Regions from separate parts of the Homo sapiens genome. Here all the other regions are linked to region 6. Evidence: promoter capture Hi-C in 16 types of primary human blood cells and fetal thymus (Javierre and others, 2016). All regions are on one chromosome and are shown on one strand. The core of a region is centred on a gene start or on the middle of the fragment in contact, and the rest is flanking DNA. Distances in the headings are between cores, read along the strand shown. Region 1 holds the start of LINC00426 (long intergenic non-protein coding RNA 426). Region 2 has its middle 63 kb from the start of USPL1. Region 3 has its middle 5.3 kb from the start of HMGB1. Region 4 overlaps HMGB1 (high mobility group box 1). Region 5 has its middle 22 kb from the start of LINC00426. Region 6 holds the start of UBL3 (ubiquitin like 3).

Region 1 (4,887 bases), core at 633-3,132, 520 kb before region 6:
ATAACATAGATAGGCCTGTGTTACATTATGTTGCCCACTGTAAGCTAATGTAAGTGTTCTGAGCACGTTTAAGGGAGGCGAGGCTGAGCTCTGATATTCGATAGGTTAGGTGTATTCAAAGCATTTTAGACTTTCAATATTTTCAATTTACAATGGCTTTTATAGGGATGTCACTCCACCGTAGGTCGAGGAGAATATGTAGTCAAGTTGCCTGGTCATGAGCACATTTTAGGTCAAGGTGTGTTTTACGCAGCTTCTAGGGTTTGCTCCTTCCTTTTGAGTTTGAGCCTGGGGGTGTGGGTTGAGGATAAAGAGTAGGTGTGGGCCAGGAGTGGTGGCTCACATCTGTAATCCCAGCACTTTGGGAGGCCGAGGTGGGAGGATCTCCTGAGCCCAGGGGTTCGAGATCAGTCTGGGGAAGGGACGAGACCTTGTCTCTACAAAATTAAAATAAAAATAAATAAATTAGCCAGGCCTGGTGGTGCATGCCTGTAGTCCCAGCTACTCAGGAGACTGAAGCAGGAGGATCACTTGAGCCCAGGACTTTGAGGCTGCAGTGAGCTATGATCACGCCACTGCACTCCAGCATGAGCAATAGAGTGAGACCCTGTCTGTATTGAGAGAGAGAGAGAGAGAGAGAGAGAGAGAGAGAGAGAGAGAGAGAGACACACACAGAGAGACAGACAGAGAGAGAACAAAGAGCAGGTGTGATCGGAGCTCAGGAAATCCTCCCTCTGGTAAGTAGTCTCAGCCTTCTATTGAGGCTGCCACCACAGTGCCATCCACAGCTTTTGCAGACCATGACATACGCAAACTGTTGTAAAATTTTGGCAGTGCTCATAGTCTCAGAGCCAAGCTTTGAAACAGAGAGGCAGCAGGAGACAGTGGGAGGAGGGTGGGATTAGAGACAGAAGGTCTCCGGGTTTGAATCTTTTCTCTCTATTGGCTGGTTGTGTGACTCTTGTCTCAGCTTCTTGGGCTGTACAAAGAGAAAACTAACACCTGCCTTAGAGACTTGTGATGATTTAATGTAGAGTGTGTGACATGTTATTGGATATTAGCAATTGCTGATATTTATAATGAAGAGCACTGGAAGCTGTCACAGTTCTCATAGTTTATTTTGCATTTGCTCCTCAGCATCCTCTGCTCATCTCAGTGTCTGTGTGGTCTTAGTGGGATGCTGACTATATTAATACTTGTAAACTTTACTCATTTTCCATCTCAAATGGGACAAGGGATAAAAATTATTTTTTATATTGTATATTTATTTAGTAAGTGAGCACTTTCCATTTTAGGCACTGGAGACACAGAAATGAAAGAGACAACGTGCCCTCAAGGATCTCACAGTGTGTGGTGAGGTGGACACACACACACATATCTAAGCACATGACAGTGAGAGGCACGTGGTCACGAGGTTGTGACGTGGAGCTGAGAGCTCAGAGGAAGGGCTTTGGATCAAGTGTGGTCAGACCACACTCGGCCATGAAAGTCTTTGAAGGTGGGGAAGGGGTGAAGATGGTGAGGGGATTCCACGGCTGGGAGAGGTACACTCCCTACACGTTCTAACCAACTGGCCGTGGGGAGGAAGCTGGAGGTCAGGACACAGGTAGGGCCTGGGTTTTTGCCTCATGTGACTGGGTGGATGGTCACAATTCGGCCATGCTGTCTTTGAACTCAACACCACCAAAATCATAGGATATTCCTAGTAATGTTGATTTCCACTAGATTACTTTTGTTACCAGAGTTTTAAGGGCAGAAGTCTTTGTCCCTTTTTTTCTCTAACAGGAAGCCATTCTGGGCCATTTATTTGCCGTTAACTTACACAGCCCACTGGAGAGTGGAGGGGTGTGAATGTGGGAGCCTGGGTGAGGGCTGCACCGGACTGTCACCAGGACAGTCCTCAATGCTGCCTGACTTAGCCACATTGCCAAAAACATACACCCATAGGTTATGAAATATTCAATACTGTATTGTATGGGAGAAATACAAAGAGGAGAAAGAACTGGGTTGAAAAGGTGGTCTGGTCAGGTATCTCAACCCACTGGCTTATAGACCAGGAACCACTCTAGACAATGCATGTAAGGAACAGAAATGGGAAACAAAAACATTTAAATTGTATTTTTCTCTGATTGCAATAAACTTGGAGGAAAGCTATTTTCTTACTTTGAGCTTTTCTTCCAATTATGATGAATGCAGAGATTAATTACAAAGGACCCGGATAAACTAAAACTCATCTACAGCATTTTTTTTTTTTTTGAGATGGAATCTCGCTCTGTTGCCCCGGCTGGAGTGCAGTGGCGCGATCTCGGCTCACTGCAAGCTCCGCCTCCCGGGTTCACGCCATTCTCCTGCCTCAGCCTCCTGAGTAGCTGGGACAACAGGCACCTGCCACCACGCCCAGCTAATCTTTTTTGTATTTTTAGTAGAGACGGGGTTTCACCTTGTTAGCCAGGATGGTCTCCATCTCCTGACCTCGTGATCTGCCTGCCTTGACCTCCCAAAGTGCTGGGATTACAGGCGTGAGCCACCGCGCCCGGCCTCTACAGCATATTTTAAAAGGCAAAAAGGTATTTTAAAATTCATGTTGGAAGACGTGGGCTCTAGCTGGGGCTGAGACAGATGATTCAACTATATTTTTTATTTTACTGCGCACTGAGGGTTGAAGCTGAAGAGCATGCATGCTTACCATTGTGTGTGCACATGTGTGTATGTGTGTCTTACACCAAAGACTGAAATCTCAAAAAAGCCCCAGGGAGCAGGTGTAACTATTATGCTACAAATGAACAGGTGTATTGTGGATCGCTGTTATATAGTTCTTTTCTTCAAACATACCTTCCTGATATAACGTTTTCTTCCTGAAAGCAAACAGTTTCTACTATTGGATTCTTGAGTGTATCATTAAGCTTCTCCAAACACAAATAACATCTACTATGCTTTAAAAGTAATGGCCCACACAGCTACTTATTTGTGTGACTGTTTATCTGTTTATACCTTTGCCTGTTTTTATCTTCAAGCAAATGGGGGATCTCAGAAGTCTTAATGAAGTAACTATCCCTGAACACTGGGATCAATACTCAGCATCCAGCTGTCAAATCAACACCAAGGTATGTACCGGGGAAAGGAAGGTTTTAGGTGAACTCCTAGCTGCATGTCTGGTTAACCTGCAACCACACAAAGCAGCTGGGGTAAAGGTGTGTCCCGATGCCTTGTGGTGTACTTGGAACTCCACAGCCAAAAGATTAGACGTTGTTTGCTCACTGTGTTCAAAACAAGAGGTGTAAAGGAAGTTCAGCAACAACCGAAAGATGACTCGTAATTTGTAACTGACTGGCTATGCTTGGCGAGCCTGGTGTATTTATAATCTTTCAAAGTCAAGCGCAAAGGCTCCTGAGCCTCATGCGTCACCCAACTGCAGCATTCCTGTTGATCACGCTGGCTGTCACCATAAAGCCTGAGCAAAAGTAAACTTTTCTGTCCCAAGGGTTTCCTTGTACTGAAAGAGCCACTGCTTGCGGCTTTTTACAGGATCACAACCAATGTCTGTTTCATGCGGCAGGTCCCTGGGGACTGTAATTGCAGAAGTATAACCTGGCGGTTATGTCACATGGCCCAAGAAACTGCCAGGAGACCAACATGCTTCCTGCCAGACGACCTTTTGCAGCTGAAGGCACTAGTGCCCCATCTGCGGTCGCTGTCTCTGTATGAACAATTCTCTGATATTCCCTGGGCAAAAAGAGGTGCTTGTTGACAACACTGAGTCAAAACTTGGAACCCTGAGCCCTCAGTCTGCCACCATATCATTTTCCTGTTAATGGAGTGTTAATTAACAAGGGTTTTCGTTTTTATGAAACGAACTGTTTTTAAGTAGGAGGATTTCCTACCTTTGAATCAACTCAGAGCTCATTTCCTACTAAAATGATAGGTGATATCAATATAAGGATGTGGAAGATTTGCCCAGTTTAAGCGTTGGGAATGGAGGCCTAGCTGCATGGCTGAGGGGATTTGGGCCATGCATGGCCTCACTGGTTGAGGACATGGATGCTGGAGATGCTTAGGTCTGGGCTTCTTTGTCTCTTTAGCCTCAGTATTCTCATCTGTAAAATGGGGTGATGTGAGAAGTCGATGAACTAATGCACATGAATAATGACAGCTAATACTTGTGTGGCCCCAACTACATCCCAGGCACTGTTTTTCTGTTAACTCATTTATTCCTCAGAGCAATCCTATGAGGGAGGTACTATTGTGGTCAGTCCCATTTTACAGATGGAAAGCTGAGGCACAGAAAGGTTGGTAACTTGCTCAAGGTCACGCAACTACTAAGTGGCAGACCTGGGATTTGAACCTATGCCTGACTGTGGAGCCCATGTTCTTATGATGCCAAGTTGCACCTTTTGTAAGACAGTCAGTAGGTGGCATACACTTGGTAAGTACTCAGTAACTATCAGAACAGGGTATACAGCGGATCACCTGGAACAGAAGCCATGTTTCTCACCTCTGTTGGCTATGGTGCAAGGCATGGGTGACCTTTAAGGGCCTAATAGTGCTGTCTACTTATCAAAGGCTCAGCTTCTTAGCTGTGGCCACAGGAGACTGGGGCAACCAGAAGTCTGGTAGGGTGTCAAGCCAATAGTCATCCTGGGGATGATGAGATGCCACCAGATTGCTGCTGACTTGGGCCAAGTTGGTGGCAGGCACTTCAGGCCATGGGGGGAACCAGGCATGAGAGCAGGGTGTGGCAGGGAGGAGACACTTGGTCTGTGTGTGTGTGTTTAGGGAGGTAGATGGGAGCCTCAGGTGATTTCGGGTCTTGGGAAAGATAGCTTGGGATGGAGAGTTGGGTCTCAACCCTTGTCTCTCACTCAGGTCTATACCTAACTGGAGACACTG
Region 2 (4,318 bases), core at 1,541-4,040, 700 kb before region 6:
CTACAAAAACATATCATACAATTATTATTTTAGATATATTTATGTAAAGTCATAAAAGCTATGATTTTTGAAAAACAGCATAAGAAATAATTTTTTAATTTGTTATATAAGTAAATGAACTTTAGCATCTTAAGGATTCAATGATACAGTTTTTAGATTTATTTTTTAAATTGACAAATACCAATTGTACATATTCTTGAGAGCACATAATTATATTTCCATACATATAATTTATAGTTATCAGATCAGGGTAATTCGCACATCCACCATCTCATATGTTTATCATTTCTTTATGTTGAGAATGTGCAATATCCTTCCAGCTATTTGAAACTATATATTGTATTATTATTAACTATAGTCATTCTACAGTGCTGTCGAACACTAGAACTTATTTCTCTTATCTCGCTATAATTTTGTATCTTTTAACAAATCTCTCTGTCACTCTCGTCCCAGCCTCTAGTATCCTCTGTCCTACTTTTTACTTCTATGAGATCAACTTTTTTTAGCTTTCGCATATGAGTGAGAACATGCACTGTTTAACTTTCTGTTCCTGGCTTTTTTCACTTAAAATAATGTCCTCCAGTTTCATCTATATTCCATCAACGATGGGATTTCACTCTTTTTTATGGCTGAATAATACTCCATAGTGTGTATATATCACATTTTCTTCATTCATTCATCTGTTGTTGGACACCTAGGTTGACTCCATATCTTGGCTATTGAGAATAGTGCTGCAGTAGACATGGGATGCAGATATCTCTTCGTTATACTATCAATGACTTGTTTTGTTTTCTTTTTTGAAACAGAGTTTCTCTCTTGTTGCCCAGGCTAGAGTGCAGTGGCAGGATCTCGGCTCACTGCAACCTCCACCTCTCGGGCTCAAGCAATTCTCCTGCCTCAGCTCTCGAGTAGCTGGGATTACAGTTGCTCACCACCACACCTGGCTAATTTTTGTGTTTTTAGTAGAGACAAGGTTTCACTGTGTTGGTCAGGCTGGTCTCAAACTCCCAGTCTCAGGTGATCTGCCCATCTTGGCCTCCCAAAGTGTTGGGATTACAGGCGTGAGCCACCACGCCCAGCCTCAATGACTTGTTTCAATGAATTCTCTCTTTGAAGACATACTGGTATCTCCTGCTTATTGACAATTGTGGCAGCAGCTTCCAAAAGCTGATTTTTCTGACATCTTTGAAACTTTTGGACACTTCTCCCATTGGGAAAATAGAATTTTTCTTTTGAATAATTCTCATTTCCCACTAAGCATATAAGCAACCTGGAGTATCTTGTAAGACCCATACAGATTAATATTTCAAGCATAATAATCCTTATACATTCCTTTTTGACGATGGAGACTATGGTTACGAGTAGCAGTTTTTAAATAAGGACTACTTTTGAGGTCCCAAAGCTTTGAAAACCTGAGGTATAAACAAAACAACATATTCCAATGAGATATTGATATCTAAACTAGTTTTCTTAAATCTGTCATTCAAAGGTTGAGAATTTCTTCCTGAAATTTAGACAATATATTATGGAAATGCGGTTTGTCTTTTTGTAAATTTAGGATGATTCTTTTTAAAAATAATTATAGGCATTGTTTATTCTGTATATTAGTGTAATAGTCAATGCAGTAGCTAGAATTGTGGTTGCTAATAGTCACAAAATCTAGTAAAATTGTGAGTACATGAACCCATCCCAGGAAACTGATGGGACAAGTAGTAAATTTTTTTGACTCTTTAACAAAAATATTTAATGCTGCCAAAAAGTATAAAAATACAGTAGGAATGGCAGTACAACACAAATTAATCTCTCCTAATTTATTTCTTTTACATATTTCTACGTTTCATACACCCATTAAAAACACTTAACAGGCCAATGCGGTGGCTCACGCCTGTAATCCCAGCATTTTGGGAGGCCGAGGCGGGCGGATCACGAGGTCAGGAGATCGAGACCATCCTGGCGAACACGGTGAAACCCCATCTCTACTAAAAATACAAAAAATTAGCCAGGCTTGGTGGCGGGCGCCTGTATTCCCAGCTACTCCGGAGGCTGAGGCAGGAGAATGGCGTGAACCCAGGAGGCGGAGCTTGCAGTGAGCCGAGATCGCGCCACTGTACTCCAGCCTGGGCAACAGAGCAGAGACTCCGTCTCAAAAAAAAAAAAAAAAAAAAAAAAACACAACGACACATCCAATGTAAGGTTCTGCAAAGTCTTCTGCTGGTGGGTGCTCCTCATACCCTGTATGTAAAGTTTACTTTGTAAACAAACAACTGTGAGGCAATCTAGAAGGTTAGCAAGCCTCACTTTAGTTTCTGGAGTGGGCTTCAGGTCTTGTTTTGCACATCAGTGGTTCAAAATTTATAGCTCCAGAATATTCTCAAGTCATGAATATTAGGTGTCTATCTTGGCCTTTTTCTTTTTTGTTCGTTCTCATTTAGCCTCTGTTTCATCTGCTGCACCTTCTGAGCTGTGGTGGCCTTTCTGTCCTCTAGAATATGTTTCCGTAGAGCATTCTCACTGTTCTCTTCCATTGTATCTTGCATTTACTGTACATCGGTCACCTGTCAGTTTTTCTTCTTCTAGACCAATTCTGTTCCCATTGTATTTTTCAGTCATTATTTTGTTCGGTGAATGATCAAAAGCAGGAGCTAAGTTTTCCTTAGAAAATTCTTTCCACCGTTTCTGTATACTAGAATCTACCTTTATACATTTTGCTCCTTCTATTATAGCCATGTATGAGAATCTCAGTTGATCTGGGGTCTGAATAAGACCCATTCAGTATTTTCTCATGTTCAATAACACTTGTTTAATGTTAATATAATCTCCTTTTCCCATCAAAACAAGACAAGCGTCTACCAGAGAGAAGGTGCCCGTGCACCCAGTGCCTTCGCTACAATGGATCACTGCAGGCCCATGGTCAGGGTTCAAGGAGCCAGATTCTCTCACTTTCAACAAGAAATTGAGAAATGAAGCTGGTGATTCAGGGACTCCAAAATCTGGCCAGGTCGTATAATGCAAGTGAGATATTGTTCTGGTTTCACCACTATTGATATTTTCTAATCGTAGTAGATGTACTGTGTAATATGACTTCACATCTTCTGAAAGAGCTTCACATTGAATCCCGTTTCTTTAAACAGCATCTTTTGGTCATCTGTTGGCCAGTACTGCGCACATTTAACCGATTCTTTCTCCACAATGCGGTTCAGCACAACAACTGCTTTGGTCTTCTGCTGCCAAACCGTAAGCCAGAAATGGCAGCACATGTTAGGAAGTGGACCCGGTGTTAAGATGTAACTCCTTCGTGCCTCTTCTATGTCAACTAAGCTGGCATTAATATAATCATTCTCAGTATTCTGCAGTTTAACACGACTGTGATCATATGGGCTTACATCTCTGTATCTATTTCGATTTCTGTTTTCTGGAAACTTGGCCACTCTATGAAGATAGTCATGGGACTCATTTCGAATTTCCAAGTACGGCAGCTGCCAGCGATGCTGAGCATCCAACTCCTTGAACTCCCGCTCAATGATGGTGGGCATGGCTGGGACAAATAGTGAATCTTAAGAGAAATGGAAGAGTGAGGTTGGCTCCTAAGCTGGACAGACACTCAATGTGGTTTATTATAGTCAATCATTACTCAAGGAAGTTGTATATATTCTATTCATATATATATTTGGTAAATTTCTAATTACCATACCCCTATGAAGTCATTACCATACTCCTATAAAGTATTATCTTCATTATAAAGTGAAGAGAGTGAGGCTGAGAGAAGTTAAATTATGTGCCCAAGGTCATGGCTAGTGAATGAGCAAACTTGGTTTCAAAGTCAGGTCTGTCTGGCTCCCAAGCCACCAGTCTTTTACGTTACCACATTGTCTTAGTCTGGGCTCTCCCGAAAGCAAAGCCTGTACAAACAACTTGGAGGTAGGTAGGGAGTTTATTTGGGAATGTGACACCAAGGAATAGACTGTGATAAGACAGAAGAATGACCCCCCGGAAGGAGAGAAAGCCAACCCAAGGGTCCCTTTCAAATTGGCAACCATTATGAATATCTGCTACTTGATCCTGTGGGAGCTTCTGAGGAACCTTTTAACATGCATCTCAGAATTGGCCACCCTGGGCTAAAAATGAGACAAGCATTTTTTCTATGAGCTCCTGTCCCTCAGTGGTCAGGGCAAGCTTACAGGCCTTAACTGTCCTGCATTTCCAGATTGTCCATATCTGAGTGCCAAGTGGTTCCCATGGGACTCCTGTGTCACAGCTCCAATGTAGCCCTGGGGCCAGAAACTAGGGGCAGAGGCCAAAAGCAGGTGCTGTGAGGTTG
Region 3 (4,473 bases), core at 273-2,772, 620 kb before region 6:
TCAAGACCTAATATAGGGATCTTTTCTGAACTTAGATCACCTTTCTGTAAGAACTTTTACTATTGCGTTTTCCACTCGTCATGTGTACCATTCTTTGACTAACCAGAGGACAGGCCTCTTAAGGAAAGGTCTGATATTTTCCCCTTACTAACCAGTAAAATCATCCAATTCTAGAGAACTTATTGATATAAATTAGCTTTGGTACAATTTTCTGTGCCATAGCATTGATGGCTATCATCAATGCTGCCCACGGAGAAGCTGCTGATTTCCCCCCGGAAAACTCGGGCTGAGGCAGGAGGTACTTAAGCAGCTGGGGAAGAGGTTCTCCTTCTCCATACATGAACACATATAGCACCATCTCCCTCTCTTTCGCCTCTGGTCTTTCTTCTTGCCTCTCCATTTAGTCATGAAACATCCTTTCAAGTTAGACTAAGGTAGTGACAGCCCTAAGGAAATGTTGAGGAAACTGAGCATAGACCTCGGTGACTATGAGAGGTCCGTGCATAGTGAATTGAGGGGATTGGATGTCAGTATCCTTGCTTCTAGTCTGGAGTTCACAAACCTGTGCTCTCTTCTTTTCCTAAATGCCTCATTCCTTTATTTTCACTGCCCTAAAAAAAAAAAAAAAAGTTTTCAGTATGTGTGATCCTTAGTATGGTTGTATGGTTATATGGTTGACCTCATCAGACATTTTGGGTTAGCGTTTCCTCTCCTTTTCCGAAACTGGCCTGTTTTGCAAAGCAGACAAGAGAATTCATATAGCTTGACTTTAGGACTCATTGCATTGGGAGAGATCAATATTTTCAACCAATGAAAAACTTACAGCTCCCAGTCTGCATTTTTGTTGTTGTTGTTGTTTTCTGTATTGTTTTGTTTTGTTTTGAAATGGAGTCTTTCTCTGTAGCCCAGGCTGGAGTGCAGTGGCACCATCTCAGCTCACTGCAACCTCTGTCTCCCAGGTTCAAGCGATTCTCATGCCTCAGCCTCCGGAGTAGCTGGGAGTACAGGTGTGCGCCACCATGCCTGGCTAAGTTTTGTATTTTTAGTAGAGATGCGGTTTCAACATGTTGGCCAGGCTGGTCTCAAACCCCTGACCTTAAGTTATCCGCCTGCCTCGGCCTCCCAAAGTGCTGGGATTACCAGTGTGAGCCACTGTGCCTGGCCTTGCATGTCGTATTTTTTTTACGTCAGAGTTTTTTATTTGTATCTTTGTTTTGAGACAGAGTCTCACTCTGTGGCACTCTGGTGTAGTCTCCATTCACTGCAACTTCCGCCCCCTGGGTTCAAGTGATTCTCGTGCTTCAGCCTCCCAGGTAGCTGGGACTACAGGCATGCGCCATCACACCCGGACTCATTTTGGTCTTTTTAGTAGAGACAGGGTTTTGCCGTGTTGGCCAGGCTGGTCTTGAACTCCTGGCCTCAAGTGATCCACCCACTTCTGCCTCCCAAAGTAGTGGGATTACAGGCATAAGCCACCACACCTGGTCACCTTTTAAGTTTTAAAAGCCCATTGGTGGCCAGCCGCGGTGGCTCACGCCTGTAATCCCAGCACTCTGGGAGGCCTTAGGCGGGCGGATCACCTGAGGTCAGGAGTTCAAGACCAGCCTGGCCATGGTGAAACCCCATCTCTACTAAAATTACAAAAAATTAGCCAGGCGTGGTGGTGCGTGCCTGTAATCCCAGCTACTCTGGAGGCTGAGGCAGGAGAATCGCTTGAACCCGGGAGGTGGACGTTGCAGTGAGCCGAGATGGTGCCACTGCACTCCAGCCTGGGCAACAAGAGTGAAACTCCATCTCAAAAAAAAAAAAAAAAAAAAAAAAAAAAAAAGGCCGGGCACGGTGGCTCATGCCTGTAATCCCAGCACTTTGGGAGGCGGAGGCGGGTGGATCACCTGATGTTAGGAGTTCGAGACCAGCCTGGCTAACATGGTGAAATCCCGTCTCTACTAAAAATACAAAAAAAAAAAATTAGCCAGGTGTGGTGGCCCATGCCTATAATCTCTGCTACTTGGGAGGCTGAGGCAGGAGAATCACTTGAACCTGGGAGACAGAGGTTGCAGTGAGCCGAGATCGCGCCACTGCACTCCAGCATAGGCAACAAGAGTGAAACCCCGTCTCAAAAACAAAAAACAAAAAACAAAAAAACAAAAAAACCAACCATTGGTTTGGTTGAACATGGGAGACAAACATTAAATTAAAGATAAAATAAAATAGGCCAGGCGCGCTGGCTCACACCTGTAATTCCAGCACTTTGGGAGGCCAAGGCAGGTGGATCACGAGGTCAGGAGTTCAAGACCGGCCTGTCCAATATAATGAAACCCTGTCTCTACTAAAAATACAAAAATTAGCCATGGCGCGTGCCTGTAGTCCCAGCTACTCAGGAGTCTGAGGCAGAAGAACTGCTTGAACCTGGGAGGTGGAGGTCGCAGTGAGCTGAGACCACACCACTGCACTCCAACCTGGGCAATAGAGCAAGCCTCTGTCTCAAAAAATTAATTAATTAATTAAATATAAATAAATAAATAAATAAATAAGTCTGGGCATGGTGGCTCACACCTGTAATCCCAGCACTTTGGAAGGCTGAGGCGGGTGGATCACCTAAGGTCAGGGGTTCAAGACCAGCCTGGCCAACATGGTGAAACCCCGTCTCTACTAAAAATACAAAAATTAGTTGGGCATGGTGGCACACGCCTGTGATCCTAGCTACTTGGGAGGCTGAGGCAGGAGAATCACTTGAACCCAGGAGGCAGAGGTTGCAGTGAGCCAAGATCGCGCCACCGCCCTCCAACCTGGACGACTGAGTGAGACTCCGTCTCAAAAAAAAAATAAAATAAAACAATAAAAAGCCAATTGGTAACAATCTTTGGGCAGACAATCTTGCAGTTTTCTGTGATAAAGTCTAATTTGGCTTGCCATAGTTCACTGTATCCACCAAGGAATAATCTTGGCCTAATTGGAAACTGGTAAATGCTTAGACTATATGTGTTTCTCTACATTTGAGATCCCCTCTCACCCTCCAACTGTGCCTCTCCCTTTTTAAGTTACGTCAATGAGATGTAATTGGCACCTATCCTCAATCTTAGTATCCTAACATTCGCTTCTTATTCTATTTTCCTGCCTTTTGATTTAGAAAGACCTAAATGCTTTTAGATCTAAAGATAGAAGAGGAAGGTTAAAACAATAATTTGCAATACGTACTCCTTCAGCTATTAATTCATTTATGCAACGGGCTTTATTTAATGCCTGCTGTATGCCAAGTACTCTGCTAGGTGCTTGGGATTCAAAGATAGGGGCTGGGCTCAGTTTCTCATGCCTGTAATCCCAACATTTTGGGAGGCCAAGGAGTTTGAGACCAGCCTGAGCAACATGGAGAGACCCTGCCTCTACAAAAAAAAAAATAGCCAGCACCAGGCACGGTGGTTCATGCCTGTCATCCCAGCACTTTGGGAGGCCAAGGTAGGAGGATCACTTGAGCCCATGAGTTTGAGACCAGCCTGGGCAACATGGAGAGACCTTGTCTCTACAAAAAATAAAAATAAAAATAAATTAGCTGGGGCTGGGCACAGTGGCTCATGCCTGTAATCCCAGCACTTTGGGAGGCCAAGGCGGGCGGATCACAAGGTCAAGAGATGGAGACCATCCTGGCCAACATGGTGAAACCCCGTCTCCACTAAAAATACAAAAATAAGCTGGGCGTGGTGGCACGCGCCTGTAGTCACAGCTGTTCGGGAGGCTGAGGCAGGGGAATCACTTAAACCAAGGACGCAGAGGTTGCAGTGATCCAAGATTGTGCCACTGCACTCCAGCCTGGTGACAGAGGGAGACTCCGTCTCAAATAAATAAATAAATAGGCCGGGCGTGGTGGCACTCACCTGTAGTCCTGGCTTCCCAGGAAGCTGAGGTGGGAGGATGGCTTCAGTCCCAGAAAGTCAAGGCTGCAGTGAGCCGTGATCATGCCACTGCACTGCACTCCAGCCTGGGCAATACAGCCATAACCTGTCTTAGAAAAAAAAAAACAAAAAATACAGAGTTCTTGCCTTTAAGGTGTACAGTGCAGTGGGACAAGCAGATACAACTGGAGAACCACAATTGTGATTGCAGTAATTAATATACACAATATTACAGGATTACAGAAAAGAGGTACGTCCCCTATCCTAGAGGGGATGGAGGAAGGGCATAAAGTACATTAATGACGATCTGTAATTCAGTTGTTTAAATTGAGCATGGGAGAGGGTGTTCAGGCCTCTTCGACTGGATGACTTTGTAATTTGGGATAAAACACCCAATAACTTGGCCGGGTACCAGGGCTCATGCCTGTAATCTTAGCACTTTGGGAGGCTGAGGCGGGCAGATCACTTGAGGTCAGGAGTTCAAGACCAGCCTGACCAACATGGTGAAACCGTCTCTATCAAAAATTCAAAATTACCCAGGCATGGTGGTGCATGCCTGTAGTCCCAGCTACTCGGGAGGCTG
Region 4 (4,262 bases), core at 1,532-4,031, 600 kb before region 6:
AATCCAGAAATAGAAAGTCAGTGGAAAGCCAGGCACAGTGGCTCACACTTATAATCCCAGCACTTTGGGAGGCCGAGGTGGGAGGATCACTTGAGGCCAGGAGTTTGACACTAGCCTGGGCAACATAGTGAGGCCTTGTCTACTAGAAATAAATAATTTTGCAGATATACTAAATACCATTTTAAAAATAAGTGGAAAAGGGATTAGAGAGATCCTTGTAAATTATGTACTCATATTCATTGTTCTCTTTAGTCACATAATTCAGTCATGTACGTGACATTCCACAGTATGGTGCTCCATAATACATATTTTTTCTTTTTTCGATCTCACTTGTATATGATCCATAATATTTTTCATCATTCCCTTACTGATGGACATTTAGATTGTTTCCTATTTTTTGCTGTTTAACAGTACTGCGCTGAACATCTGTACATTTCTCTCAGGCATGTGTGGGTCTTCAGATACCTCAAAAGTAGAACTGCTGAGTCAAAAGACATTTGCATTTAACATTTTGGAAGATGTTGATAAATTGCACCCCACCACCCCCCCCCCCCGCCCACAAAAGCTGTTATTTATGCTGTGAAACATTTTAACAATGATTTTGCAATTAATCAAGATTTTTACTGGTTTTTCTTTGGCTGTATAACTCTATTTTTAAAAACGAGAAATTAAAATACTGAAATACTGTCATTTGTCCAGAGCTACCTGACCAGAATAAGAAACACAGAGAGAATCAACTGAAAGACTCTTAGGACAAGCCACTGCTTTATTTAAACTGCTAAACTATTTCTCAAACTCCTGGCCTCAAACTATCCTCCCTCCCTCCTCGGCCTTGTTGCTGAGATTACAGGCGTGAGAACCACAGTTCCTGGCCTAAACTGCTAAACTATTTCTCTAAAGTTACTGCAGTAACTAAATAAGTAATCCACTGTGTGAAAATGAGGAGGTTCTTTCTCATTTTGATATACTCTGTCCTAAATGGAAGTATGTGGTAGTTTTTTGGTTGGTTTGTTTTATTCTGGGGAGGGTCTTTTCTAGCAGAGATTCTATGTCAATCTTACAGAAGCTGCAGCCAACAGTTTTGGAAATGCAAGTTGTTCAATAAGGTGTAGCAAAAGGAGAAATGTGTGGCCCAGATACTAGCCTTTAGGAGACAAGTGTTTGGAAAGGCAGAATGGATTCTGAGGATTTGCCTTAAATGGAATAAAGTTCACCAGTTCCTTGCTGGAGATGATACTTTATGGCAAAGGACATACTCCAAATGTGCTTATAAATGAAATTGTATTTATATGCTCAAAGTGAAATTAAGCTGGCCGGGCGCAGTGGCTCACGCCTGTAATCCCAGCACTTTGGGAGGCTGAGGCGGGCGGATCATGAGGTCAGGAGATTGAGACCATCCTAGCTAATACGGTGAAACCCCCTCTCTACTAAAAATACAAACAAATTTTCCGGGCGTGGTGGCGGGCGCCTGTAGTCCCAGCTACTTGGGAGGCTGAGGCAGGAGAATGGTGTGAACCTGGTAGGCGGAGCTTGCAGTGAGCCGAGATCGCGCCACTGCACTCCAGCCTGGGTGACAGCGAGACTCCAACTCAAAAAAAAAAAAAAAAAAAGTGAAATTAAGCTTAGTTCCTTAGCGTTACATAGAATCTCTCATTAGAGGCTTTACCGTATTTTGTTTGTTAGCTTTTGCTTTTTGGGTTTTTTTCTCCTTTTCACAGGTGTTGACTGTACCCTGGTTTTGTTTATTGGGTTTCAATTAGAGCTTATTTTATAAAGTGATCTGAACATAACCAAGTAAGAGAATAAAAAACCCTAAAATAAAATAAGGATCTGTTGAGTGTGAGAGAGTGCTCCTAAAGATAAAGAAAAACAAGATGCTCAGTTGCCACAGCCTCAGGTGCCACTGTAATCCCTGGAAGAGATGAAGAGTAAGAACTTGGAGGCTACTCAAAGCAAAGATATTGCAGCTCCCCCACCCCTACACCCCAAGCCCCATTTCCCCAGGCCTTGCTCTGCCACCTGGAATCAGCCTGGCTGGGGCTTGGGCACAGGGAATGGGGCTAGGCACACTTAGGCTCAGAAGCAGAGAGGCTGACCAGAGAGCCTGTTTTCAGGGAGGGACAGAATAAGGCATAGCACTAGTGTAAGGTCCTAGCACATTACAGGCGAAGGGGGTCTAAGGGCTACCGTAGTCTAATCTGTGCATTTTTACAGAGTAGTGGACAGAGGCCCATAGGGATTCAGAGGCTTGCTCAAGGACAAATGGCAGTATCAAAACACTCTAGCAGCACCAGGCTCACAGTAGGTGCAAAAAAGATGTGAGCTCTTTCCCCTTCCCTTAAGGACAGCAACAAAAAGGCTGGAAAACTTCCTCATTGCCCCTCACTTCCAGGCCTGGGTTCTTCTGCTTTGGCTACAATTTTTGCTATGCTAGGATAGCCAGTACATTCTGCCATCACTGAGGTTCTTCTCTGGCTTTCTCCTTTGATTTACTTGGACAGAACATTTCTGAACTGAACCAAACCAAACCAAACAAAAATACTCCCAGTCATGTAGAAAGTTATAGGCTATCTGATTCTAAAGGGCTGGTAATCACTAATATAATAGATGCTGCTTAGGACTGTAGCCTGATCTTCTGGAAGTAGAAGCAAGATGCAATATGCTACACACGACAATAACTTTTGAAAAATCGGTTGCCCTTATTATGAATGAAACTTACATTATTGAAACAAAATAAATAAGAAAACAAAAACCTGTAATTCTACCAGTCAGCAAGACTATTACCATATTATGTGCCCTTCCAGTTTCTATATATAACATGTAATATATATAGATATATAGATATAGATAGATTTTAAAAATTGAGGTGAGACTCATATAACATAAAATTAACCTTTTTTTTTTTTTTTTTTTTGAGACGGAGTCTCGCTCTGTCACCCAGGCTGGAGTGCAGTGGCGCGATCTCGGCTCACTGCAAGTTCCGCCATCCGGGTTCACGCCATTCTCCTGCCTCAGTCTCCCGAGTAGCTGGGACTACAGGTGCCCGCCACTGCGCCCAGCTAATTTCTTGTATTTTTAGTAGAGACGGGGTTTCACTGTGGTCTCGATCTCCTGACCTCGTGATCCGCCTGCCTCGGCCTTCCAAAGTGCTGGGATTACAAGCCTGAGCCATCGCTCCCAGCCCATTCATTCGTTTTTAAGGCTGAATAATATTCTATTGTGTGTATATACCATAATTCCTTATTCATTCATCCAGTGATAAGGTCTTAGGCTGTTTCCACCTTGTGGCTATTGTGAATAATGCTGCTATGAATGTGCGTGTACATGTATTTGTTTGAGTTCTTGTTTTCAATACTTTGGGTATATATCTAGGAGTGGAATTGTCGGGTCATATGGTAATTTTATGACTAGCTTTTTAAGGAACTGCCAAACTGTTCTCCACAGCAGCTGCACCACTTCACATTCCCACCAATGATGTATGAGGGTTTCAATTTCTCTACAACCTTGCCAGCACTTCCTATTTTCTATTTTTTAAAATTATAGCCATCCTAGTAGGTGTGAAGTGGAATCGCATTGTGATTTGATTTGTGTCTCCCTAATGACTGATGATACTGAGTGTCTTTTCATGTGTTTATTGGCCATTTGTATGCTTTGGAGAACTAATTCAAGTTCTTCACCCATATTTAAATTGAGTTGTCTTTTTGTAGTGTTGTGTGCATATAGATATACATACATATATATGTTTTAAAAAATGTTAATAATTTAAAAATACTGCATTTGTAAGCTGCTTTTTCTACTTCACAGTCTATCTTGAACAAAAGTCTATGTCAGCTGGGCACAGTGGCACACACCTATAATCCCAGTACTTTGGGAGGCCAAGGCAGGCGCATCACTTCAGGCCAGGAGTTTGAGACCAGCCTGGCCAACATGGTGAAAGCTTGTCTTTACTATAAATACAAAAATTAGCCAGGTATGGTGGCATGCGCCTATAGTGCCAGCTACTCAGGTGACTGAAGCACAAGAATCGCTTGAACCTGGGAGGCGGAGGTTGCAGTGAACTGAGATGGTGCCACTACACTTCAGCGTGGGCAACAGAGTGAGATCCTGTCTTTAAAAAAATTTAAAAAGTCGGCCGGATGCGGTGGCTCACACCTGTAATCCCAGCACTTTGGGAGGCTGAAGCGGGTGGATCACCTGAGGTCAGGAGTTCGAGACCAGCCTGGCCAACATGGTGAAACCCCGTCTCTACTAAAATACAAAAA
Region 5 (4,771 bases), core at 2,155-4,654, 540 kb before region 6:
ATCCCTAACCTTGACCTATGCATTGGAAAGAGGGGCACAGTTCATGATGGAGGAAGGGACAGCACAGTCTCTGACCCCAAAACTTAGGATGAGGGTATACTGTATTTTTTTTTTTTTTTGAGACGGAGTCTCACTTTGTCACCCAGGCTGGAGTGCAGTGGTGCAATCTCAGCTCACTGCAACCTCCGCCTCCCGGGTTCAAGTGATTCTCCTGCCTCAGCCTCCCAAGTAGCTGGGACTACGGTGTGCACCACCACACCCGGCTATTTTTTTTTTTATTTTTTTATTTTTAGTAGAGATGGTGTTTCACTATGTTGGCCAGGCTGGTCTCGAACTCCTGACCTCAGGTGATCAGTCTGCCTCGGCTTCCCAAAGTGCTGGGATTATAGGCGTGAGCCACCACGCCCGGCCATATACCATATTTTGAACTAAATTTCTCCCAGCCTATCTCAACAACACTTGCCATAGTTCCTTGTTTTCCTGAGAGAGATAGTAACGGCCATCTTCCCTCTGTAGAAGGAGAGCCTAAGGCAGAAACAAGGTACCATGTCCAGCATTAGTGAGTCTTTAGAAAATCAAAGAATAAAATTTATGTCTTTTTCAAGCTCACCTCTTACAAAGACCTGAACCACCAACAGGGTCAGAATGGCACAGCCTCAGCCAGACGTGGTGGCTCATGCCTATAATCCCAGCACTTTGGGAGTCTCAGGTGGGATTGCTTGAGCCCAGGAGTTTCAGACCAGCCTAGGCAAGATGGTGAGATCCATCTCTACAAATTATTTTTTATTTTTTTGCCAAGTATGATGGCATACACCTGTAGCCCCAGCTACTCGGGGAGAGGCTGAGGTGGGTGGATTCCTTGAGCCCAGGAGTTCGAGGTGACAGTGAGCTTTGATTTCACCGCTGCACTCCAGCCTGAGCTACAAAGGGAGACCCATCTCTAGAAAAAACAAATGGCACAGCCTCTATGGAAAGCGGTACGGTGGGTCCTCGAAAAAATTAAACAGAATTACCATATATCCACCAATCCTACTTTTGGATATTTATCCAAAGTAACTGAAAGCATGACTTCTATTGAAAGGAATTGAAAGGAAATAATTGAAAGGAACTCATGCAGATAATTGTATACCCAGGTTCACAGCAGCATCCTTCACAATGGCCAAAAGATAGAAGCAACCCGAGTGTCCATGGATGGATGAATAGATAAAATGTGGTATACATACAATGGAATATTATCCAGCCTTAAAAAAGGAAGGATATTCTGACATATGCTTCAACATGGATGAATCTTTAAGACATTATGTTAAGTGAAATAAGTCAGTCACATAAGGACAAATACTATGTGACTCTAGTTATATGAGTGTCTAGAGACAACAGCAGAATGGTGGTTACCAGCGGGTAGGGGAATGGAAAATGGAGAGTTAATGTTTAATTGGTCCTAGGCTTAGTACCTGCATGACGAAATAATCTGTACAACAAACCCCTGTGACATGAGTTTGCCGGTGTAACAAACCTGCACATGTACCCCTGAACCTAAAATAAAAGTTAAAAAAAAAAAAAAAAGAAAGAAAGAAAAGTGCCCTTTGCGGTTCCACACAGAGGCGCCAGCCTTGGGCTGAGAGAACTCACTGGTTTGATGGTTATTGGATCGCTCATTAGAGATAACCAAAGCTATTGTTCCTCCCTGATCTTGCCTCTGTAGTTGAGTCATCACCCTTAGAGGCAGAAGAAAGCAAATTATAGCAGGGCTTCTTCAGCATTGGGGTGGGGAAAGTATTAAAACATGCATGGTAAAGATGTCACCTTCTTGGTCGTGGAAAAGCCCTCCTGGGGTAAATCTGCATATATTTGCATATATATATGCACGCATACATCCTAACCTGAAGGGAACATCCAGCTCTTCTCACCTACAAAAAGATGAATCCTTCTGATGTCTCTTTTACAGGGTATGTGGACAATAAAAATTTAACTATTAATGTTGTAGAAATCTAAGGGAAAAAAATCGCAAAATGAACGTGCCATTTAAATTTTAAATTTAAAAACGTCATTTTTAGTGTAAATTCTTTATAGGTAGATAAGAGCATATCTTGAAGACTTTTTAGGAAGGGAGAAGGGGAAATAGTAAAAGGTAACGTCAATCCTAAATCTTTATTTGAAAAGGAGACTGGATCTGTTTTTTTCTCTAACATCAATCCTAAATCTTTATTTGAAAAGGAGACTGGATCTGTTTTTTTCTCTAACATCAATCCTAAATCTTTATTTGAAAAGGAGACTGGATCTGTTTTTTTCTCTAACATCAATCCTAAATCTTTATTTGAAAAGGAGACTGGATGTTTTTTTCTCTAACGTCAATCCTAAATCTTTATTTGAAAAGGAGACTGGATTTGTTTTTTTTTCTCTAATTGTGTGCTGGGCAGTAGTTCTACCTTACTGTACCAAGGGGACTAACAGGGTTTGGAGAAACTAGGCTTCATCTTTTTCCAGGATCATCAGACACTTTCCAGGGGGAAAATGGACTTTCACTTTGGAAAATATAAAATCGTGTTTGTTTTACCTTACGAAACAACTGGAGCCTCTGGAAGACGAGGCTGTACGGTGCGTTGTGTAACCCGCCTGGGGAATCACGTTGCACAGACAAGTCCCACAGGCTTTTACTGCAATAATAAGCTTGATCTTCTTATTCAAATACAAGTAACAACCACAGCCGGCTCCAAGTCACGTGTCCAGGTCACATGGCACACAGACGCAGAAGCCGACTGGCAATCATTAGCCAATGCTTACTACCAGGAAGAAAATCCTGGCATTAAAGACACGAACTCAGTTTTTATAAAACAACCAGGACTGCAAGAGAAGGCATTTGATGTGGGGGTAGGGTGTCATTCTTGTTAAGTGCTTTCCAAGGAAAGGAAAAGAGCCAACACACACTCCCTCCTTTCGCTCTTCTCCCAGAACTTTCCAAACTTGCCCAGCGTAGCCGCCTTTTCCAAACCTGGAGGAGTGCTGGGCTGCAGCATCCGCAGCTCAGGTCTGGGAGCGAGAGGGAGGGGCGGGCTGACTTGGCTCTGGGTCCTAGCCCTTGGGAAATGGAGGGCTGAATTCAGAGCTGAATTTAGTAGAAAGCCAAGTTTTCTCTTCCTTATGAAATTAATGCTTCTGGGTCGATGGAGTTTGGGGAGGGGCGAGGGGTGAGAAGAAGCACTGTGAGCTATGGGGTCCGTCTGGACTTTTTGTTAACATGAAAAACAACATCCAGAATGTGGCTTCTTTAAGTTTTTCTGTGGTAAGAACAGAAACTGCAAGGACTCTGCCTACCTGAATGTTTCCTTGTTCAGCCGTTTGAATTTAGAAAGAAGTTCTTTCACTTTCTCTAACTTGTATAGTGTTACTTTGTGCTTCCAAAAACTGCAGTGATCGAACTGAGTTTGTTTAATTTAGTGTGGAAGTGACAATAGTGGGTGTGAATGAAGAGTTTAGAATCTGCTGGAGGGAAGGGGTAAAGTACAGATAAAAGGCTTTAACGGAAAATTGACAGCCTTTTTTTTTTTTTTTTAACAATCTAGGCGTGTTTTATTTCACAATGCACAGAAAGTGCTTTACCCAAACACTGCAGAACAGACGCAGCCTTAAAAGAAAATCTATTGGTATAGTCAGGATTCTCAATCCTATTTCATTTCGCTCTTTTCAGAAAGAACAACCATACAAAGAATTTCACTGTGTCACTGAAATATAATTATTTCACAAAATTTAGTTAGGAAGTTTGGTTTTCTCCCTCTTCATCTTTTTCTCCATCCTACCCTCTTCAAAAAGCTAAAATACGCCTGTAATCTCAGCACTTTAGGAGGCTGAGATCAGGAGTTCGAGACCAGCCTGGCCAACATGGTGAAGCCCCATCTCTACTAAAAATACAAAAAAAATTATCTGGGCATGGTGGTGTGTGCCTGTAATCCTAGCTACTCGGGAGGCTGAGGCAAGATAATTGCTCAAACCCGGGTGGCAGAGGTTGCAGTGAGCTGAGATTGCGCCACTGCACTCTAGCCTGGGTGACAGAGTGGGACCCCGTCTCAAAAAAAAAAAAAAAAAGCTAAAATAAGAGCATGTGAGCCAAAGGGGTGAATCTAGGTTTCGTAGGTCCTGAAGCTTATGTAATTTGGAAGGAAGAGAATATAAATTCAAACATACAAAATTAGGTATTAAAGTATCACTAAATTTAGAAAAACATATAATTAACTGACTAACATATCTCTAAAATCCTTTCTATCCCACATTTTGGGGCAGATATTCATTGATGGCCTCTTATGTTCCTGAAAGGTGAGAACTTTCATCTTGACCAGTGATCCGTTTAAGTGTACCTACAATTGTACAAGTTTGATGATTGGAAAGCTTTGCCCCAGACTCTTGTAGGACCCTATTTCACATCTTGTTTCCCCCCCTTGCTCTGGGGACATGCACATATCATGATATGATGCTTGAGTCTGAGCCTTTACGACTCCATGCCAGCTAAGTCGGAACGTAGGAATATCCCCAGAAACCTTTTCTAAGCAGTAGCTTGGCTATACGAAAGTGACTGCATCAACCAGGAGCAGTGGCTCGTACCTGTAATCCCAGCACTTTGAGAGACTGAGTTGGGCAGATTGATTGAACCCAGGAGTTTGAGACCAGCCTGGGCAACATGGCCAAACCCAGTCTCTACAAAAAAAATCCAAAAATTAATTGGGTGTGGTGGTATGTGCCTATAGTCCCAGCTACTTGGGAGACTGAGACAGGAGGATTG
Region 6 (4,482 bases), core at 1,437-3,936:
GTTGCACAGTGTGAACGTACTTAATGCCACTGAACTGAAAATGTAAAAAAGACTAAGATGTTAAATTTTATGTTATGTGTATTTTGCTACATTTTAACAAATAAAAAATTACTCATTTAAAGTGTACAATCCAGTGGTTTCCTGTGTATTTACAGAGTTCTACAACCATCGCCAAAATCTAATTTTAGGTTGTCATCATTCCACCTTCCCTGTTCCCCCAAAATCCCTCCTACCCATAAGTAGTCACTTAGGGAAGATATTTTTAACAGGCCATCGGTGTCATGCCCTATTTTTCCAGGACTTGACACTCATAGACTCTTAGAAGGGACCTTAGAGATTTAGTTCAAGCTTCTCAGATGAAGAAATTGAAACTCAGAGAGGCAAAAGGTCACATAACTAATTCGTGGCAGAGCCAGGTCTTTTGACTTCCTATGAAGTTATTTTTCCCATTACAAAAATGCTGTGTCATTCACTTTCTTCCAACTGATGCTGACAATAGATTCCTGGTGTCAAGAAGATGCTACCTTTTCCTGCTTGGGACAGCTGAACTCCTTTCTACAGCCTCCCACCTCACCCGCCTGAGCTGGGAAGCAAAGAGAAAAGAAAGAGTGGAAAAATCTGCAACTGTGTCCAATAATGTTACCTCATGCCTTAACAATGTTAGGGATGAGTTATAATGAGTTTTATTGAGAATAATGTCTCAGCCCCTCTTAGAAGAGTAATTGGAAACACAGCGACTTTTGAAAGACATTGCCTTTTGTAAAGGTGGCAGTGGTAACCTGCAGCAAACAGCAACTCTTGCCTTTCTACTTACAGTGGCACTTAGGCCCGGCAGTGCCATGGCCAGGCAGTGCCATGGCCAGGGAGGTCATTGGATAAAAGTTGGAGTCAAGGGTATGGTGGAGGGACTAACTCTGTGAGTTAGAGCTTTCAAAATGTGCTCCAATATTCCTTCTGAGCTCATTGGTCAATTGAAGTATTTTCACCTGCCCTTATTTCCTGGGGGGCTGGTGTAGGGGTAGGGGGACTCTGTGGTTGCTAAACATTGCAAATGAGCAACCAAGTAACAAAGGCCATGGAAAATCACGTAACTATGGACTTGGAAATATCTAGACAAAGTCCTGAAGCCTAATCACAGTGAGATTTGGGCCTCTCTTCTCTTCTGGCCTTTGGTTTTTCGGAGAATTTGATCTATCTTCCTCAGGGTGATATAGGCCCTTAGGAGTGTTTGGAATTTCTCCACCCAGGCTACTCAAGAGGCAGGTACTCTAAATGTCCTGTGGGTTTCCAACTGATGAGAAACCCAACTGGAGAGATTGCTGTGGGGAATCACGTAGGCTTCTAGACAATGAGCTCCCTGAGGACAGTGACTGGATTCTGCCTCTTTTCAACAGCCCTATAGACAAGGATGTAATAACCCCCATTGCCAACCCAAGACCTTGGCATTTCTGCCACATGATGCTGCTGTTCGCTACAGTGACTCATTTTTAAACTCCTAGTGCCTAGCAGAGTGCCTGGCACATTTGTTTGCTGAATGAGAGAATGAGTAGTGACATTTCATATCAAATGATGCATTATTATTTACAAAGTGATTTATTTCCCATGCATGAACTCATCCTCATAACTACCCCTACTTTACCCCGGAAGGTAGGCAAGACCATTTTACAGATGAGGTCACACAGCTGTAGGTTGGAGAGGTGGCTTTCAGACTCTAAATTCATTGGCATTTATATATAGGCATCATATTGAGACTGCCCTTTCTAAAGTACTCTGTCAAAGGACTAAGAGATATGAATAGGGATTCAGATGTTGACCTCAGATTTAGGAACAAAATGCAGAAATCACAAATGTCCATCTGAATGGTGTCTCAACAATGGCATTATTTTCTCCTATTTGCTAATCACTGCAAGGCATATAGGTTTTCAATTACATTATGAGTTACATAGAATAGAATTTAGGGTCCAGATGGGTAAACTGGTGAATCCCCATGAAGTTTGTAGTAGCTATTTCCTGATACAGATTTGATATAATAACACTGTTGTATGTAATACAGTTTTGGTAATTTCAGTTAAGTAGATTGTAGCTTTATTGCCCTGGGTCTTCAAGGAAACACATGTTCAAATATTCTCACTGCTTAATGAGATCCTTGTTCCTGTTGAACTTATGTGACCTTATTGGAAATCAATGATTGCTTTTGTTCTTCAAAATGTAATGTTGAGGAGACCTAGATGAAATCACTCTACAAAATGCATTGAGATTGCAGGATGTGGAGAATGTGCTGTAATTAAAATGAATGATTCTGCTTGGAGGTACAGCATATTTTAGCTCTGTGTGCATATCGTGCATAAGGGAATTTCTCTATGCAGAATTATTTTCTCCCAACAATTCTCATGATCACAGCACTCCTGGTAGCAGGTATCACTTAACTCCTGGGCAGCAGCTTGTCCAAAGCAAGGGAAAGGGAGCTTTCCTTTCCTCGCAACTGTTGCTATGGGGGGCGTGGCTTCGGAGCTGGGTGAGGAGGCGTTCGGCGGCTCCCTCCCCCCCCCACCCTCGTAGACTACACTTCCCGTGATGCTCGAGGGAATGGTCTCCGTGGTGACGCACTTGGTGTCCGCGGAGGGAGGACGAGGACGGGGGCGGCGGCTGCTGCGAGGGGGGGCCCGTGCTCTCCCCGTTTCCCTTAGTCGCACTCAGGCAGCCGCCGCCGCCGCCGCTGCCGCCATGTTGGTTTGAGAGGCGATGACAGGAGGCGGCCGCGGCGTGTGGGACTGAAAAGTGAAGGAGGAGGAGGAGAAACAAAGCTCTGAGAGGAAACCATTCCCGGGCTGAGGAGAAGGAGGACCCGGCCTCTTCCGGGGACCAGCCGAAGTCGGCGTCGCCCGGAGCTCGCGAGGCCGGGGAGGGGAGGGGAAGGGAAGGCGGAGACCGGGGAGGCGGCGGCGGGGAAGGCGGAGGCAGAAGAGGAGTGGCGAGGAGCCGGAGACGATGCGCCCCGACCCCAGCTGCTGTCCGGAGGCGCCCGCGGCCTGAGCCCAGAGGGGCTGTGGAGTGTCCCGGCCGGCCCCGAGCACCCCCGCGCTGTCGGTCCCCCGCTCCGGTCTTTCGCTTTGGCTTCCAACTAGTTAAATGCCCTTGAGCGCGGGTTTCCGCGGCCCGGCTCTTCGCCCCCGCGGCGCGAGTTGAGCCGTTTCCCCGCGCTGTCCGCGCGGGCGCTCCGACAGCGGCTCTGCAGGGTCCGCGGCCAGCGTCCGGCCACCGCTCGGCCGCCACTCAAGGCTCACGCGTCGATGTGTAGCTACATAGTTATCTGTGTACATCCACGCTGGGGCATTTTTCTCCTGCTTAATGAGGACTTGACTCGGGAGCAAGTGTGAATCATTGCCGGGGCTGGGAAAGGAGGAAGGCGCATTTAACCCCCTCCCACCCCTCTCCATGTCCGTGTGTCACTCGGCTCGGTCCACCTGGCGCGGCCGGTCCTGGGGCTGCTGCTGCTGTTGACGACGACGACGACGACGGGGGCTGCCTCTGCTGTCCCGGGAGTTTCCTCCTGCTCCGGCCACACAGCTCCTGGGGATTGTTCCTCTTCGAACCAGAACCTCGGCCTGACCGGCACTTTGGCTCCAAAATAACTTTATTTTTGGGGGAGAAAGCACATCACGAACCAGTCAAAATCGTGGTTTATTTCTGTAACGTGAAGACTTCTGCTCTTTTTTCTTTGTTTGTTTTTTTCGTAAACATCTGGGTGTATATCAAACGGCAAGATGTCCAGTAATGTCCCGGCGGATATGGTAAGTGACGGATAAGTTATGACACTGATTTAATTGTGGTTTCCAATCTTATTTAATCGGAAAGACGGCAGGCGTGGGGCGAAGATTTGCTGGGGACTGTCGAAAAGCCACTGTGCTGAGCGATTTGGAGAAGTTGGAGCTTCTGGTTTCCCCCTTTTAGGAAGTACTGCTTTTAATATGGGTTCTCTCATTTGGTCGTGTTTTCTAAAGCATTGAAGATAGTGGAGAAGTAGGGAAATGTATCATGGTAGCTTGAGGGGACAAAACATCTCCCTCTTCGCTAGAAGCCTCCGAACACTAGTATTTTAACGTTTCTGAAAACGTCAGGGACAGTGGGCAGAGCTGAGGACGGGTGTCCCTACGAGAGAATAGGTAGGGAAACGGGAATCTTGCTTTATGACACAGACGAGATCGTCATTGCAGTAGGGACGAACTTGATATTTTTCAAGAACAGGGATGCACATCTCTTCAAGAAAAAGTATGTTAGAATTTGCTGTGAGGTTTTTGAAATGTCTGAATACGGATGGCAACAGAAATATAAAGATATTTTGGGATTTTCAGAAACGTAGGCTGACCCTGTATTGGTACTTACAATGAATATTCCAGGGCTTTTTAATGCCAGATATTTATTAATAGTAGATTCCATATTAGACATAAAGCTAAGGAAACATAGTATTGAGCCTCGATCACT

Evidence for each region. The method cuts DNA at HindIII sites, captures the fragments that hold promoters and counts their contacts. A CHiCAGO score of 5 or more calls a contact.
Region 1: a fragment that was not itself captured here is called in contact with the fragment with the promoter of UBL3 in region 6 in 2 of 17 cell types (naive CD4 T cells and fetal thymus); the score reaches 5.4 in naive CD4 T cells.
Region 2: a contact is called between a fragment that was not itself captured here and the fragment with the promoter of UBL3 in region 6, in 1 of 17 cell types (naive CD4 T cells). The highest score is 5.7, in naive CD4 T cells.
Region 3: a fragment that was not itself captured here is called in contact with the fragment with the promoter of UBL3 in region 6 in 2 of 17 cell types (fetal thymus and naive CD4 T cells); the score reaches 6.5 in fetal thymus.
Region 4: a fragment that was not itself captured here is called in contact with the fragment with the promoter of UBL3 in region 6 in 3 of 17 cell types (fetal thymus, total CD4 T cells and naive CD4 T cells); the score reaches 6.0 in fetal thymus.
Region 5: a fragment that was not itself captured here is called in contact with the fragment with the promoter of UBL3 in region 6 in 1 of 17 cell types (naive CD4 T cells); the score reaches 5.6 in naive CD4 T cells.

What each region holds. Positions count from the first base shown.
Region 1 is chr13:30,370,502-30,375,388 of GRCh38, reverse strand. LINC00426 (long intergenic non-protein coding RNA 426) reads left to right here and starts at 1,475. Exons shown (of 5, transcript NR_024464.2): 1 at 1,475-1,606; 2 at 3,015-3,104. The HindIII fragment of the contact is 2,047 bases long and covers 859-2,905 here.
Region 2 is chr13:30,552,886-30,557,203 of GRCh38, reverse strand. It overlaps a transcript of HMGB1 not described here and the pseudogene PTPN2P2. Among named protein-coding and RNA genes, the nearest start is that of USPL1, 63 kb to the left of the region's middle. The HindIII fragment of the contact is 2,771 bases long and covers 1,405-4,175 here.
Region 3 is chr13:30,469,010-30,473,482 of GRCh38, reverse strand. It overlaps a transcript of HMGB1 not described here. Among named protein-coding and RNA genes, the nearest start is that of HMGB1, 5.3 kb to the right of the region's middle. The HindIII fragment of the contact is 9,123 bases long and covers 1-4,473 here.
Region 4 is chr13:30,453,053-30,457,314 of GRCh38, reverse strand. It overlaps HMGB1 (high mobility group box 1), which reads left to right. Exons shown (of 5, transcript NM_002128.7): 5 at 1-611. Among named protein-coding and RNA genes, the nearest start is that of HMGB1, 11 kb to the left of the region's middle. The HindIII fragment of the contact is 2,316 bases long and covers 1,624-3,939 here.
Region 5 is chr13:30,393,566-30,398,336 of GRCh38, reverse strand. No RefSeq gene overlaps it. Among named protein-coding and RNA genes, the nearest start is that of LINC00426, 22 kb to the right of the region's middle. The HindIII fragment of the contact is 1,470 bases long and covers 2,670-4,139 here.
Region 6 is chr13:29,848,821-29,853,302 of GRCh38, reverse strand. It overlaps UBL3 (ubiquitin like 3), which reads left to right and starts at 2,686. Exons shown (of 5, transcript NM_007106.4): 1 at 2,686-3,791. The coding sequence starts at 3,765. RefSeq lists silencers at 2,531-2,640, 2,911-3,210 and enhancers at 2,771-2,840, 3,511-3,580, 4,051-4,120. The HindIII fragment of the contact is 5,102 bases long and covers 351-4,482 here.